Linked DNA regions of Homo sapiens: region 2 is linked to region 1. The links are contacts of gene promoters, found by promoter capture Hi-C in human tissues and cell types (Jung and others, 2019). All regions are on one chromosome and are shown on one strand. The core of a region is centred on a gene start or on the middle of the fragment in contact, and the rest is flanking DNA. Distances in the headings are between cores, read along the strand shown. Region 1 holds the start of ZNF559 (zinc finger protein 559). Region 2 overlaps LOC112268250 (a long non-coding RNA gene).

Region 1 (4,340 bases), core at 107-2,606:
AGGCGTGAGCCACCACACCTGGACTAAAGACATTTGTTTTACTCGAGCTACAGATGTTCTCTAGATCAGTATTTGTTTTTTTTTCTTCTTTTTGAAACAGGGTCTCACTCTGTTGCCTAAGCTGGAATGCAGTGACACAATAATGGCTCACAGCAGCCTCGACCTCCCATGCTCAAGTGATCCTCGCATCTCGGCCTCCAAAGTGGATGGGACCACAGACACCACCATGCCCAGCTAATTTTTTATTTTTAGTAGAGACAGAGGCTTGCCCTATTTTTTCCAGGTTGGCATCAAATTCCTGGGCTCAAGCGATCCTCCAGCCTCAGCCTCCCAAAACGCTGGGATTACAGGTGTGAGCCACCTTGCCCCGCCCTCAGTAAGACTTTCAAATGAGTAACTGGTAGAAAACCCACCTGTCAAAAGTTATCTTCGCATTCATTATCAATTCAATCCCTCCTGCTAGTAAATCAGCCCGCACCGTGTTCCTGGGGATGCCCTCGTTTTGAACCTCTGGGGGAATCTACAGGGCGCTAGAGTGAGATCTAGGTGATGGCCTGGAACCACAGTTGAGTAGTCCTGTGTTTTTCCTTGGTGGTAAATTTTACAGTTATGTGCATTCATCCACTCATGCATTCGATGGTATCAGATCCATGTGCTCTCGAACAACCACCTGAAAAGGTTTCTTTCCACCTCGACACAACTTAAACTTCAAGACCCGACACCCACAGCCAGAACAAGTGCATGAAGTGCTCACCGGGACACGACAGAATTGTCAGGTTGCTGAGGCCAGGAGGACACCAAGCGAAGGTCACCGTGAACAGGAAGGCAGAGATGCTGTTCCTTATAGAGAAAAGGCACAACGCTGGATGTGGAGACTTTTTTTTTTTTTTCCATTAGAGATGGTTGGGGGGGGGGGTCTCCCTATGTTGCCCTGCCTGGTCTTGAACTCCTGGCCTCAAGTAATCCTCCTACCCAATCCGCCCAAAGCGCTGGGAATGACAGGCGTGAGCCGCCGCGCCGGGCCCTATGAGGCTTCTGCAGAGGGGAGCAGGGAAAATGGAAAGGCCGTGCCCCCCGCCTCCTCCCGGGCCGAGGCCCCAGCGCAGCCGCCTCGACCCCTGAGGACAGACCTGACTGTGGCTCTCAGAGGAGGGGCCGCGACTTGGGAGAGCCCACAAGATGCTCGAAATGCCCGAAAGTGCACGGGACAGGCTCCATTTCACTGGGCACCTCCCCTTTCCACCCTTCTACTCTCGCGTGGCTGCACCGGGACACCACCGAACGCCGCCCAGAAACAAAAACTTACCTCAGACGCCAACGGGAACGCGCTGTTAAGATGGCGGCCGTTATGCGCATGCGCCCACGCAGACACGCCGCGCACGCGCAAAGGCTAGGACCACCTAGGGGGCGGGGCCTCGGGTTCCCGGGCCCATCAGCTGCTGCGGCTTTTTCCAACCCAGAGCTGAGAGGAAATGCTGTTTACCTCCCCGAAGAGCGCAAGTGTCACCGGTAGGGGGTCTTGACTGCAAGCTGTCCAGGTTACTGGCGTTTTGAACAAAGAATTAGACAAAACGCCCAGCAAAGCAAAGAAAGAATGAAGCAACAAAAGAACAAGAGCTGGGATTTGTTGAAAACGAAAGCATACTCCACAGTGTGGGAACTGGCCAAGCGGCAGCTCAAGGGCTCCGAAACAGAACCTTCATGAGTCCCAATACCTCCTAGAATTTTCCCATTGGCCACTTCATGCTCACCTCCTGTAAATGAAGCGGTAGCCCGCGTTCAGTCTGATTGGTTGCAGAAAGCAGCCAACCAGAGTCTGAAGTTACAAAGGTCACACTCCTGTGCAAACATCTGATTGGTTGCAAAAAGCAACCAATCAAAGGCTAGGGTGAAGTTACGACGTTACAAAGTTACACTTCTATGCAAATGAAGACTCAACCGGCCATCAGTCTGATTTGTTGCAGACAGCCAATTTCCTATCTGCCAGCAGAAAAGGTCAAAGGGAGTAGCCTCTGGTCCTTTTGTTATTTAGGCGAGGAAAGTGAGGGTTTTCCTTTCAATTTAGTTCTAGGAAGTCGGCCTGAAACAGCCTTAAGTTCCCTGCCTCCCGACTCTATTCAGCCTCACAAGGGCTTGATTTTTGGTCATCTCACACTCAGAGACTAGAATGCTCCTATTGGAATTTGTTCAAAAATTAGCACATAGAGGCTGGGCCTGATGGCTCACGCCAGTGATCCCAGCACTTTGGGAGGCTGAGGCAGGCAGACCACTTGAGCTCAGGAGTTCGAGACCAGCCTGGGCAATATGGCAAAACCCTATTCCTATAAAAAAGACAAAAAACACAAAAATTAGGACGTAGTTAAGAGCATAGATAAGATTCATGCGGACTTCCTAAAAGTGAAAACACCAAGATCTGGGGTCGGGGAATCTAAGGCCAATTCGTGATAATTTCCTAAAGTTAAATCAAAGGAAAAACACCTGGGGCTGGGGGCAGGGCACCTAAGGCCAATTAACACAAACTTCCTGAAGCTAAACCAAAAGGAAAAACCCCATCTCCCCAAGATCAAAGACTACTCTCTCTACAGTAAAAAGTAAAGTAGAGGTTCCTCTTCAAAGACTTTCCTGCCCATCTAATTAGGAATAAATAGTAACTTCTGTTAGAAGCAAAATTTATTCAAAGACCTGTACTAATGTGTCCGGAATTGGTGGGTTCTTGGTCTCACCGACTCCAAGAATGAAGCCGGGGACCCTCGTGGTGAGTGTTACAGATCTTAAGGTGGCACGTCTGGAGTTTGTTCCTTCTGATGTTCGGATGTGCTCGGAGTTTCTTCCTTCTGGTGGGTTCGTGGTCTTGCTGGCTCAGGAGTGAAGCTGCAGACCTTCGCGGTGAGTGTTAGAGCTCTTAAAGCGGCGCGTCTGGAGTTGTTCATTTCTCCCGGTGGGCTCGTGGTCTCGCTGGCTTCAGGAGTGAAGCTGCAGACCTTCGCGGTGAGTGTTACAGCTCATAAAAGCAGTGTGGACCCAAAGAGTGAGCAGTAGCAAGAGTTATTGCAAAGAGTGAAACAACAAAGCTTCCACGGCGTGGAAGGGGATCAAAGCGGGTTACCACTGCTGGCTGGGGCAGCCTGCTTTTATTCTCTTATGTGGCCCCACCCACATCCTGCTGACTGGTAGAGTCAAGTGGTCTGTTTTGACAGGGCGCTGATTGGTGCCTTTACAATCCCTGAGCTAGACACAAAGGTTCTCCACATCCCCACTAGATTAGCTAGCTACAGAGTGTCGACACAAAGGTTCTCCAAGTCCCCACCAGAGTAGCTAGATACAGAGTGTTGATTGGTGCATTCACAAACCCTGAGCTAGACACAGGGTGCTGATTGGTGTGTTTACAAACCTTGAGCTAGATACAGAGTGCCAATTGGTGTATTTACAATACTTTAGCTAGACATAAAGGTTCTCCAAGTTCCCACTAGACTCAGGAGCCCAGCTGGCTTCACCCAGTGGATCTTGCACTGGGGCTGCAGGTGGAGCTGCCTGCCAGTCCCGCGCCATGCGCCCGCACTCCTCAGCCCTTGGGTGGTCGACGGGATTGGGTGCCGTGGAGCAGGGGGCGGCACTTGTCGGGGAGGCTCCGGCTGCACAGGAGCCCACGGAGGAGGAGGCGGGGGAGGAGGGGGTAGGAGGGGGAAGGAGCGGGGGGTAGGGCAGGGGGAGAGGAGGGTGGGGGTGGGGAGGGGGGTGGGGAGGAGGGTGGGGGGGAGGAGGGCGGGGGGAGGAGGGGAGGAGGAGTGGGGGAGGAGGGTGGCAGGGGGGAGGAGGGCGGGGGGGAGAGGAGGGCGGGGGGGAGGAGGGCGTGGTGGCGGGGAAGGCTCAGGCATGGCAGGCTGCGGGTCCCGAGCCCTGCCCCACGGGAAGGCAGCTAAGGCCTCGCAAGAAATCGAGCTCAGCGCCAGTGGGCTGGCCCTGCTGGGGCACCCAGCACACCCTCCGCAGCCATTGGCCCGGGTGCTAAGACCCTCATTGCCCGGGGCAGGGACGGCTGGCTGCTCCGAGTGCAGGCCTGCCAAGCCCACGCCCACCCGGAACTCCAGCTGGCCCGCAAGCACCGTGCGCAGCCTGGTTCCCGCTAGTGCCTCTCCCTCCACACCTCCGTGAAGCTGGGGGAGCCGGATCCAGCCTTGGCCAGCCCAGAAAGGGGCTCCCACAGTGCAGCGGTGGGCTAAAGGGCTCCTTAAGTGCCGCCAAAGTGGGAGCCCAGGCAGAGGAGGCGCCGAGAGCGAGCGAGGGCTGTGAGGACTGCCAGCACACTGTCACCTCTCACTAACATTCTTAAATATCTGCTA
Region 2 (4,801 bases), core at 1,038-3,537, 73 kb before region 1:
GAATCTGACAATTATGTGTCTTGGAGTTGCTCTTCTTGAGGAGTATCTTTGTGGCTTTCTCTGTATTTCCTGAATTTGAATGTTGGCCTGCCTTGCTAGATTGGGGAAGTTCTCCTGGATAATATCCTGCAGAGTGTTTTCCAACTTGGTTCCATTCTCCCTGTCACTTTCAGGTACACCAATCAGATGTAGATTTGGTCTTTTCATATAGTCCTATATTTCTTGGAGGCTTTGTTTCTTTTCATTCTTTTTTCTCTAAACTTCTCTTCTTGTTTCATTTCATTCATTTGATCTTCCATCACTGATACCCTTTCTTCCAGTTGATCGAATCGGCTACTGAGGCTTGTGCATTTGTCATGTAGTTGTTGTGCCTTGGTTTTCAGCTCCATCAGGTCCTTTAAGGACTTCTCTGCATTGGCTATTCTAGTTAGCCATTCTAATTTTTTTTCACGGTTTTTAACTTCTTTGCCATGGGTTCAAACTTCCTCCTTTAGCTTGGAGTAGTTTGATCATCTGAAGCCTTCTTCTGTCAACTCGTCAAAGTCATTTTCCGTCCAGCTTTGTTCCATTGCTGATGCGGAGCTGCGTTCCTTTGGAGGAGCAGAGGCGCTCTGATTTTTAGAGTTTCCAGTTTTTCTGCTCTGTTTTTTCCCCATCTTTGTGGTTTTATCTACCTTTGGTCTTTGATGATGGTGATGTACTGATAGGGTTTTGGTGTGGATGTCCTGTTTGTTAGTTTTCCTTCTAACAGTCAGGACCCTCAGCTGCAGGTCTGTTGGAGTTTGCTGGAGGTCCACTCCAAACCTGTTTGCCTGGGTATCAGCAGCAAAGGCTGCAGAACAGTGGATATTGGTGAACAGCAAATGTTCCTCTGGAAGTTTTGTCTCAGAGGAGTACCCAGCCATGTGAGGTGTCAGTCTCCCCCTACTGGGGGATGCCTCCCAGTTAGGCTACTCAGGGGTCAGGGACCCACTTGAGGAGGCAGTCTGTTCATTCTCAGATCTCCAGCTGCATGCTGAGAGAACCACTGCTCTCTTCAAAGCTGCAGACAGGGACATTTAAGTCTGCAGAGGATTCTGCTGCCTTTTGTTTGGCTGTGCCCTGCCCGCAGAGGTGGAGTCTACAGAGGCAGGCATGCATCCTTGAGCTGCGGTGGGCTCCACCCAGTTCAAGCTTTCCAGCCACTTTGTTTACCTGCTCAAGCCTCAGCAATGGCGGGCGCCCCTCCCCCAGCCTCACTGCCACTTTGCCGTTTGATCTCAGACTGTTGTGCTAGCAATGAGCAAGGCTCTATGGGCGTAGGACCCTCCGAGCCAGGCGTGGGATGTAATCTCCTGGTGTGCCGTTTGCTAAGACCATTTGAAAAGTGCAGTATTAGGGTGGGAGTGACCCGATTTTCCAGGTGCTGTCTCTCACCCCTTTCTTTGACTAGGAAAGGGAATTCCCTGACCCCTTGCGCTTCCCAGGTGAGGTGATGCCTCGCCCTGCTTCAGCTCACGCTCGGTGCGCTGCACCCACTTTCTGACACTCCCCAGTGAGATGAACCCGGTACCTAAGTTGGAAATGCAGAAATCACCCGTCTTCTGCATCACTCATGCTGGGAGCTGTAGACTGGAGCTGTTCCTATTTGGACATCTTGGCTCCGCCCCCCATTTCATATTTATGAGATCTGTAGTGATGTCCCTTCTTAATTTCTGCTATTAGTAATTTGTGTCTTCTCTGTTGTTTCTTTGTTAGCCTGATGAGAGGTTTATTTTATTCATCCTTTCAAAGAACCAGCTTTTGGTATTGTTGATTTTACTCTATTTTCTGTTTTCAATTTCACTGACTTTTGCTTGAGGTTTTTTGTTTGAGACAGTGTCTTGCTTTGTTGTCCAGGCAGGAGTGCAGTGGCATGATCATGGCTCACTGCAGCCTCAAACTCCTGGACTCAAGGGATGCTTCCACCTCAGTCACCCAAATAGAGGGGAGTACAGGCATGTGCCACCATGCCTGGCTTTTAAAATTTTTGTAGAAATGGAGTCTAGCTGTGTTGCCCAGGCTGGTCTCAAAACTCCTGGCCCTCAAGTGATCCTCCCACACTGGCCTCCAAAAGTGCTGAGATTACAGGCATAAGCCACCATGTCTGGCCTTGAATTTTTATTATTTCTTTTCTTCTGCTTACTTTGGATTTAATTTGCTTTTTTTTTTTTTTTTTAGTTTCCTAAGGTGGAAGCTTAGATGATTGGCACAGATCTTTTTTCTTTTCTAACCATTCAGTGTTATAAATTTCCCCCGAAGAACTGCTTTTGTTGCACCCCACAAATCTTGTTAAGTTGTATCTGTTGTCAGTGCAAATTTTTTAAACTTTTTTTGAGATTTCTTGTTTGACCTATTTATTTAGAAGTGTGCTGTTTGATCTTCAAGTATTTTGAGATTTTTTTAGCTGTCTTTGATTAGTTTCCAGTTTAATTCTGTTGTGATCTGAGAGCATACATTGTATGATTTCAGTTCTTTCATATTTGTTAAGAGGTGTTTCATGACCCGCAGTGTGGCCTGTCTTGATGAATATTCTATGTGAGCTTGAGAAGAATGTATAATCTGCTGGTTTTGGATGAAGTAATCTATATATGTTAATTATATCCAGTTGATTGATAATGCTGTTGAGTTTTACTACATTCTTACTGATTTTCTCCCTGCTGGATCTGTCCATTTGTGATAGAGGGGTATTTATTTTTAATTAATTTATTTTTTCATTTTTTTTTTTTTTTTTGAGATGGAGTCTTGCACTGTCACCTGGGCTGGAGTGCCATGGCGTGATCTCAGTTCACTGCACCCTTTGCCTCCTGGGTTCAAGCGATTCTCCTGCCTCGGCCTCCCAAGTAGCTGGGACTATAGGTGTGCACCACCACACTTGGCTAATTTTTACATATTTAGTAGAGACGAGGTTTCACCATATTGACCAGGCTGGTGTCAAACTCCTGACCTCGTGATCTAACCGCCTCGGCCTCCCAAAGTGTGCCACTGTGCCTGGCGATAAAGGGGTATTTAAATCTCCAGCTATAATAGTGGTTTTATCTATTTCTCCATGCAGTTCTACTAGCTTTTACCTCATTTTGATGCTCTGTCATGTGTACACACATTAAGGATTGTTATGACTTCTTGGAATATTGGTCTCTTTAAGTTATGCCCCTCTTTATCCCAGATAACTTTCCTTGATATGACGTGTGCTCTGGTCCAGGCACAGGGTCTCACATCTGTAATGCAGAACTTTGGGATGCTGAGGTGGAGGATCGCTTGAGGCTAGGAGTTTGACACCAGCCTGGGCAATGTAGCAAGACCCCACATCTGTAATTTAAAAAAGTTGAAGTCTGCTCTGTCTGAAATTAATATAGCTACTCCTGCTTTCTTTTGATTGTCATTAGCATGGTATATCTTTCTTCATTCATCTTTTAATCTATATGTGTCTGTTTAATTAAAGTGGGTTTCTTATAGACAATGAATAGCATTCCTTATAGCCCTCGTCATCTAACCTATTGACCACTGGCATATTACACACCTACACCCCATCACCAATCCTCAACCCCCATCACTGACCTTAACTAATGCACTTTCCATCCCTGGTAAATATTCTATGGGCGCCACAGTACTTACCTCTAAATTCCCAATGAGCAATCCCACGGACCTTCCATCAATGACTCCACAGTTCCCCAGTATGACTGACCATCTGAATCTCCACCAAGCCCCCTTGGGATCACATCGCTGACCCCCACATAGCCACACCATTGATTTCAGACTGCACATCCCTGACCCCGCTTCATATATATCACCGACCCCACAGAGCTGCAACATAGCACCAGAGATTCCTCCATTGATCTCTGTATAATCCCTATTACTGCTCCTAAGGAATCTCTATCACTAACCCCACAGTGTACATGTTACTGACCCCAGAGACTCCTAATCACTGTCCCTACAGACCTTCATCACTAACCTCACAAATCCTCACTGTATTGATGTGTTTTCATGCTGCTAATAAAGACATACCTGAGACTGGGTAATATACAAAGGAAAGAGGTTTAATTGACTCACAGTTCCACATGGCTGAGGAGGCCTTACAATCATGGCAGAAGGCGACTGAGGAGCAATGTCCTGGCAGTAGGCAAGAGATCTTGTGGAGGGGGACTTCCCTTTATAAGTCCATCATATCTTGACTTACTCACTACCGCAAGAACAGTATGGGGGAAACTGCCTGTAATTCAGTTATCTCCACCTGGCCCCACCCTTGACATGTGGGGATTATTACCATTCAAGGTGAGATTTGGGTGGGGACACAGCCAAACCATATCACTCACTAACCCCACTGACCCCTGTGGTCTCACAGTAGAGATGAATAGACCTCATCACTGATCATAAAGACCCACAACACAAACCACCAAAGACTCCCCATTATTTCTTTTCTTTTTGTTTTTAGACAGAGTCTTGCTCTGTCACCCAGGCTGGAGTGCAGTGGTGCGTGATCTCGGCTCACTGCAACCTCCGCTTCCTGGGTTCAAGCGATTCTCTTGCCTCAGCCTCCTGAGCAGCTGGGATTACAGGCACACACCACCACACCCGGCTAATTTTTGTATTTTTGTAGAGACAGGGTTTCACCATGTTGGCCAGGCTGGTCTCGAACTCCTGACCTCAAGTAATCCTCCCTCCTCAGCCTCCCAAAGTGCTAGGAGTACAGGTGTGAGCCACAGCGCCTGGCCACTCCCCATTATTTCTAATAGTGGTGTAAGCTGTTATCTCTTGGTTAAGATAGTGTCTGGCAAGTTTCTCC

What was found. The method cuts DNA at HindIII sites, captures the fragments that hold promoters and counts their contacts. A contact is called where the count stands out against the background at its distance.
Region 2: a fragment that was not itself captured here is called in contact with the fragment with the promoter of ZNF559 in region 1 in 3 of the 25 tissues and cell types used here (aorta, pancreas and psoas muscle).

What each region holds. Positions count from the first base shown.
Region 1 is chr19:9,321,195-9,325,534 of GRCh38, reverse strand. ZNF559 (zinc finger protein 559) reads right to left here and starts at 1,356. Exons shown (of 7, transcript NM_032497.3): 1 at 1,307-1,356; 2 at 755-840. It overlaps ZNF559-ZNF177 (ZNF559-ZNF177 readthrough), which reads right to left and starts at 1,356. Exons shown (of 13, transcript NM_001384659.1): 1 at 1,307-1,356; 2 at 755-840. RefSeq lists a silencer at 953-1,092 and an enhancer at 1,263-1,512. The HindIII fragment of the contact is 8,356 bases long and covers 1-4,340 here.
Region 2 is chr19:9,394,554-9,399,354 of GRCh38, reverse strand. The region is part of intron 1 of LOC112268250 (a long non-coding RNA gene); the gene reads left to right. Among named protein-coding and RNA genes, the nearest start is that of ZNF177, 34 kb to the right of the region's middle. The HindIII fragment of the contact is 3,595 bases long and covers 490-4,084 here.